Linked DNA regions of Homo sapiens: region 2 is linked to region 1. Evidence: promoter capture Hi-C in human tissues and cell types (Jung and others, 2019). All regions are on one chromosome and are shown on one strand. The core of a region is centred on a gene start or on the middle of the fragment in contact, and the rest is flanking DNA. Distances in the headings are between cores, read along the strand shown.

Evidence for each region. Contacts are between HindIII fragments. The study calls those that stand out against the background at their distance.
Region 2: a contact is called between a fragment that was not itself captured here and the fragment with the promoter of C6orf141 in region 1, in 1 of the 25 tissues and cell types used here (dorsolateral prefrontal cortex).

The regions. Positions count from the first base shown.
Region 1 is chr6:49,549,241-49,552,361 of GRCh38, reverse strand. C6orf141 (chromosome 6 open reading frame 141) reads right to left here and starts at 1,694. Exons shown (of 1, transcript NM_001145652.2): 1 at 267-1,694. The coding sequence starts at 1,569. The coding sequence ends at 835. RefSeq lists enhancers at 374-893, 910-979 and a silencer at 1,650-1,709. The HindIII fragment of the contact is 21,386 bases long and covers 1-3,121 here.
Region 2 is chr6:47,794,086-47,797,404 of GRCh38, reverse strand. OPN5 (opsin 5) reads right to left here. Exons shown (of 7, transcript NM_181744.4): 4 at 1,842-2,176. Among named protein-coding and RNA genes, the nearest start is that of OPN5, 14 kb to the right of the region's middle. The HindIII fragment of the contact is 3,438 bases long and covers 1-3,259 here.

The DNA.
Region 1 (3,121 bases), core at 445-2,944:
AAGGAGAATGGTATCTTCAATCTATTCTTGACTACAAGTCTCATTAATGAAGAACTATGGAAAAGAATAAGACATGCATTCATTTTATGGCAAACTACATATTGCTATCTACCTTTAGTTCAGAACATTTACATGCAGTATTTTTAATATTAAAATTAAAATGTATGATAAATGCATGTTTACAGGACTAAATTAGCTATTGTTTGCAGTAAAGCCTTTGTAAATGGAATTTCACGTTGAAATCTTAGTCTTCTGTCCCCAACTCCTTCTTTCCCTAGCTCCTCTCGTTTTCTTTCTAACACTGAAATGTGGGGGAGAAAAATGAAAAGTGCACATCAGAAGAGAGTCACTTGCTGCTTTGGTTTTACTTTCCCATTTCTTTTTACTTTCTGTTTTTGGCTTTTAAAACAAGCCTCTTCTCCACCCACTCCCACCCTCTTTGCAGAGAGCAGACTTCAAACTTCACTTCTGTTTCTAGGTCCTAAAGAGAAACAAGAGGGGGGCGGGGAACAGAAAAGAGATCAATTGAGAGTTATTCCAAAATGCAAATTAACAACAGGTTTTCTCATTTCAAAACTCCCACATTCTGCCAATCTGAAAATATCTTTTCTCCACCTCTTCTGAATGACTTAGGTCCCCAGACAGCGAAGGAATTCAAGCCACAAAGGAGGTATTATGCTGCTTACAGTTCTTAATCTGCCTCCCCGAAGCGCTGCACCAGCCTCTCAAAAGGTTCCTTCTGTAGGTTAATTGCAGGTTGGAGCTCCCAGAATAGCATTTTCTTTTAAGGATGATCGCTCATCCACCATCCCGGAACATTTCTCGAGCTACTCATTAGAGTTTAATTTCCTCGAGCCAAGTCCCTGGAGACGGTGAAACCCTCCTCCCCGCGGCGTGGACGCGGGATGCCCCTGTTCGTGCCTGGAGAGCCCGGGATTCAGCAGGGCCCCAGCGTTCCCCAGGCTGTCCCTCTCTACTGCTGCGAAAAGTGAGCGCGGTCACGAAGTGCTCCTCAGTCCTCGTGGTCATGCGACCCTTGGCCCAGGAGGTCTGCAACACTTCTTGTGTTACCTGATAATCCTCCACCCGCACAAGCACGTATTTGGGTGGGTCTGCTGCGTCCCGCGGCGGGGCTACACGCCTGCCAGAAATTCGCTTTTGTCGTTGAAAGACAGAAGGGTAGTTGGGCTCCTCGCCGTGGTCCTCTCCACCCGCATGAGGAAGGTCCTCTGCACCGGCCACCTCTTCCCGTGCAGGGTCCCCTCGAGTCCCTAACCACCTCTCTGGGTGCAGGAGAAAGAGCACTTTCTCTCTGACCCAGGACTCACGGTCCAATTCCTCCCCGGCCCGAGGTCCGAGGGCCCGATCTGCCGTTCTGTCCTCGTGGCCGCCGCCCTGGCTTCGGCTCGCCCCTGCCGTCGCGGGATTCCGGGCGCCCGGAGCTAGCGGAGCCCCGCGCCCTACCTCCCGCGGAAAAGGCCCGAGGTCCCCCAGGCTGCGGGAGGAGTCCATGGGATTCGCAGCTCCCTGAGGCCCCCGGGTCTCCATCCTGGCAAAAGGGTCATTCATTCGTTCCTTCTTTGACCGGTTCAAGCAGCAAGCGCCTGCTGAGCTCCGGAAAGCGCGGGACCACCAAGCCCTGGGTGTGGCCTCTGCTGCAGCTCCGGACTCCCAGCCGGTGAAAGCTGAAGACTAGATCAGCCCCAGGCTAACCGCGTGCGGAACCCGCCTCTTCACCCTCCGCCTCTCCCACCTGGCGGCTGTCTAGCCATTCAGAAGAAGCTTGACACAAGCCCCAGTCACTCCTCTTCTTCCTCCTACCCCTGTCCGGAGCCCTGCTCCCTTTGTCATTCGCTGATTCAGTCCCCTCTTACTTTTCACCTCTATCCTAGTTTCCCACCCACCTTTCGTTTTTCTCCGGAGCTGAGGCGCAAAGGACACCCTCGCACTGCGCCCCCACTGAAATGCCCCGAAGTATGTTTGCTTTCCAAGGACGCTCCTTGAGGTGAAGGAACAAAGAAGTTTGTGTGCATTTTAATTAGCTGATCTAATTCTGAAAAGGGTTTTTGTCCATTCCGAATCCACTCCCACCATGCTGCCAAAATAATGGAATGTAGATCAAATGGTCAGACTGAAAAGCTGAAGCCTTGGAGAAACTGGTTTTGGTTTCTTTGTCCTTCTTCCTTTAGAATGCCAGAATCTGTAGCTCTGGAGGACAATGGTCACACCTGTGTCCTCCTCCTCCTCTTCCTCCTCCTTCTTTTTTCCCGCTCTCTTTCTCTCTCCCTCTCCCCGCTCCCCCTTCCTCTTACCCCACCCCCCCACATTAGATATGGTCTCGCTCTGTAGCTCAGGATAGAGTGCAGTGGCGCAGCCTCGACTTTCCAGGCTCCCACCTCAGCCCGTCAAGTAGCCGGGACTACAGGCGCGCACCCCCATGCCCGGCTTTTATTTATTTATTTATTTATTTATTTATTTATTTATTTATTTATATTTTTCTAAGAGATGGTAGGGGTGGGGCTCTCCTATATTGCCCAGGCTGGTCTGGAACTCCTGGGCTTACGAGATACCCAGGATCCCCCACCCTACCCACACACCCACCTGGGCCTCCCAAAATTCTGGGATTACAGGCTTGAGCCACGGCCCTGGCCAGTCTTCATTTTGTGTGTAATCAACGCTTGTCTCAGGAAGGTGTAGTCTTTGATTTAAAACAAGCTATAAAACAGAAGCAAAACAAACATCCAAATGAATTTTTTCAGGACTTAAAATTGTTTGTGTTTGTGTCGTTTATAAAATTCCCTCTGCACCCACCCGTCCTCTTTAACCACAGGGGTTAAAAAAAGTTAAGTGTCTCTGGCGAGGCTTTTAGAATTTACCCATAGGCAGGCCCGCTGACCACTACTCTTTGCCTAAGGTTAACCGGGGAGGCTAGGTCATAGAAAAAGAGCTCAGTTTGTGGTTTCCAGTTCATCCTTAGCTGTTTGTTTTATTAAAAAACCCACTGATGGCTGGGTGTGGTGGTTCACACCTGTAGCCCCATCATTTTGGAAGTCTGAGGCCGGTGGATCACTTGATGCCAGGAGTTTGAGACCAGCCTGGTCAGCATGGTGAAACCCAGTCT
Region 2 (3,319 bases), core at 291-2,790, 1.8 Mb after region 1:
CTCATAATGCTTCATTTTATGAAAATATTTTCCTACTTTATAGCCAATTATAAGACAGAAGAAGTTCATGCTTCCTGAGTCTGCATTTTTGTCCAAGAACTGTTCTATTATTAAGCTATCAGTATAGATTTAGAGTGATGAAAATATCCCTCAAAGCTTCCTCTACTTGGCATGTAGAGTTTGAGCATAACAGTCAACTGGAGCCATCAGGAATCTAGCTCACAGTATGTGATATGGTTTGGCTGTCCCCCCACCCAGATCTCATCTTGAATTGTAGCTCCCATAATGCTCATGTGTCATGGCAGGGACCCAGTGAGAGGTAATCGAATCATGGGGGCAGGACTTTCTCATGCTGTTCTCATGATAGTGAATAAGTCTCACAAGATCTGATGGTTCTATAAAAGGGAGTTCCCCTGCACATGCTCTCTTGCCTGCCACCATATAAGACATGACTTTGCTCTTCATTTGCCTTCTGCCATGATTGCTAGGCCTCCTCAGCCATGTGGAATTGTGAGTCAATTAAATCTCTTTCCTTTATAAATTATCCCATCTTGGGTACATCTTCATTAGCAGTGTGATAGCAGACTAATACAATATGCAACCAAGAGATCTTTGTATAACTCCAAAAATTCTGCAATTTGGAGAGAGGCATATTACCAGAACCAAGTCTCTGACTTACTAAAAAGCCATCTCTTATCTGGGGGAAACTGTGTTTCTCTGGGTCCCTGAGACTAGTGGTCTCCAAAGTGAACATGAGAATACTCGAGGGTAGGATACCAATCAACGTGATTGATTGGGATACAGGAAGAAATAATTATAACTTCAATCTACCTTTATTTTTATCTTTAAAATAGAAGAGAAAATTTGGGGGGTTAAATTAGGGGGTGCTAATATTTAATACAAAGCTTGATGGTATTACCTGTATGTCATTTATATTGATGGCATGTGTTGGAAAATATTTTTTCAGTACAAGGGCAAAAAATCATGAACATGTGAAGACCACTGCTTTAGACTTTACCAGTAATTCCTAACAGGCATAAGGAAAAAGGAGAAACCATGGTTGCTCTAACACCTTCTATGCACCAGATGACAGAATAATATACTTTATCTCTTTGAATTCCCACCGTAACCCAATAAGACAGATATCACTATTCCTGTTATGCAAGTGAGGAAATAGGGATTCAAGAAAGCTAAATATCTAGTTCTAGGTCACAAACTTGGCAGGTACTGGTGATGGGATTAAACTCTAGTCTTGTTCTTTTCCTTACTCCACAATACCTAAAGAACTGTCACCTCTGAAACTACCGTTTACCAAGGTACTCAAGCCTGCAGAAACTGCTCGTGTTCATAACACAAGCTTCCCATGGGAAAGCACACATGGTAAACTCTTACTCTATAAATAATTCAAGTGGTAGAATGTCCCTAATGATGTCCCAAAGTCCATGCAACGCAGAAAATACTGTGAGGCATTGTATGATTCATAAAAGTTATTCTTATTACTGAAATAATGAATATGAATCAATAGTACCCTATTCAGCAGAGCAGATAAGCCCCAAATTGATGGGTTATACAAATTTTGTAGATATTGAAAATGTGTGTGTGTGTGTGTGTGTGTGTGTGTGTGTGAGAGAGAGAGAGAGAGAAGAGAGAAGTGGGGGTACAGAGACAGAAAGAGGAGAGAGATACCACAAAGAAAGGCTTAGACAATCATCAACGAAGTTCAGAATTACGTAAAGAATAGAGATTCTAAGTTCTCTCAGTCTCCAACGTTCCCTATCCTTTGTACCCTATGAAGTTGTAAGTAGTCAGAAAACACATGTGTAAAATATTAGTGCACTTACCTTTGTCAGTTTCATTTCCAGCACATGGCTGCTATGGATCCGACTGTCGAAATGAGCTACTTCTTTGGAAGAGGACTTAACCTTGGCAATGATCTTTACGTAGGAGAACACGATCACAGCCGTTGGGAGCAAGAGGCAGAAGAAGAGGATGTTCAGGATGAAAACCTGGCCCCCTACCGAGGCCTGGGCCAGCCACCAGTCCAGGGTGCACGAGGTTCCGAAGGGCTCAGGTACGTAGTCCCCCAGACCTACCAAGGGCATGGTGGTCCAGAAGGAAGCATAGGCCCAGATGGCTGCCAGGCAGATGTAGGCGTGCTTTCTTTTCAGCCAAACCCCTGGAGGCGGAAGAAAAGCATTACCCGGATGTAATCTGCCCTACACCCAGATACCTCCCCTCGATATGTCAAATTCCACCTCCAAAGATTTATTCCATTGATTTCTGGGAGACCTGGGCAGATAACTGAAGCCTGAGGGAGAGTGGAGTAAACGGAAAAAAGTTCCAGAGCTTGGGCCTTTCTCCAGGAGAACACAATTGGAAGGTTTTCTCTAGGCATCTGGGAGCTTTGGGAGGGAGAAGTGACAACAGCTGGGAAAAGGGACAGGAAAGAGATGAGAGGATGCTGAAGACAATGGAGGCCCTTGAGAAAACATCTCGGAAAGGGTGTGTTAGTGGATCATCCAGGGAAAATCCTTCTGGGAGGTGAGGAAGCACAAAACATGGCTTGTGTCTTTAAAACGCCCTTCCTGCTAACAGCTTTTGTGTTGCTAGTCTTATCTGGCTTCCTAAGAACTTGTGGAAGGGGCTTGGTGGCTCGTGATCATGACACTATGGTTTGAGATTAAAGTCCTTGACTGTGTTTAGTAATTTGTGGAGCAGGTTTGGAATCTTCAAACGTCATTCACACAACAATCGCGCTCACACAGCCACAGCGGGAGAGGCAGAGAATCTAGGTAGGTTGCATCATGTTCTGCAAAGTAATTCTGTGAAGATATTTTCAGGAAGACAAAAAATGAGCTCCGTTTTTCAGCACTAGTTTCTGTTAACCAAAAGAGAATTCCAAGCGGAGGAAATAGTGCAGTCATCTAAGAAAAGCTGTAAAGCACTAGTGATCATTTTCAGAATTCAACACAACCACCAAAGACAGGTCGGCCTGATTTAGTGCAGCAGCCTCCACAGGAAATTACCTTCACACCTCACTCATCACCTCGAACGAAGAGGGCCAGGAAAGTGACTCTTTACTGCCTTGGTTTTGTGTTAGCAGAGAAGAAATATCAAAATATATTCAACAAAAGCTAAATGATTACTTCAATATAGACTCAGGGCCTGCCTCTGCTTAGTGCAATGTGAGGTTTGGAAAGTCGGTCAGGCCTAATTCTTCTATGTCTAGTCTTTGACTGACCTTGTGCATGCAAGACTATATTGCATATGGGTTAAATAAAATAATGTAAGGGGCCTGCTTTGCAAACTAGAAAGTGCT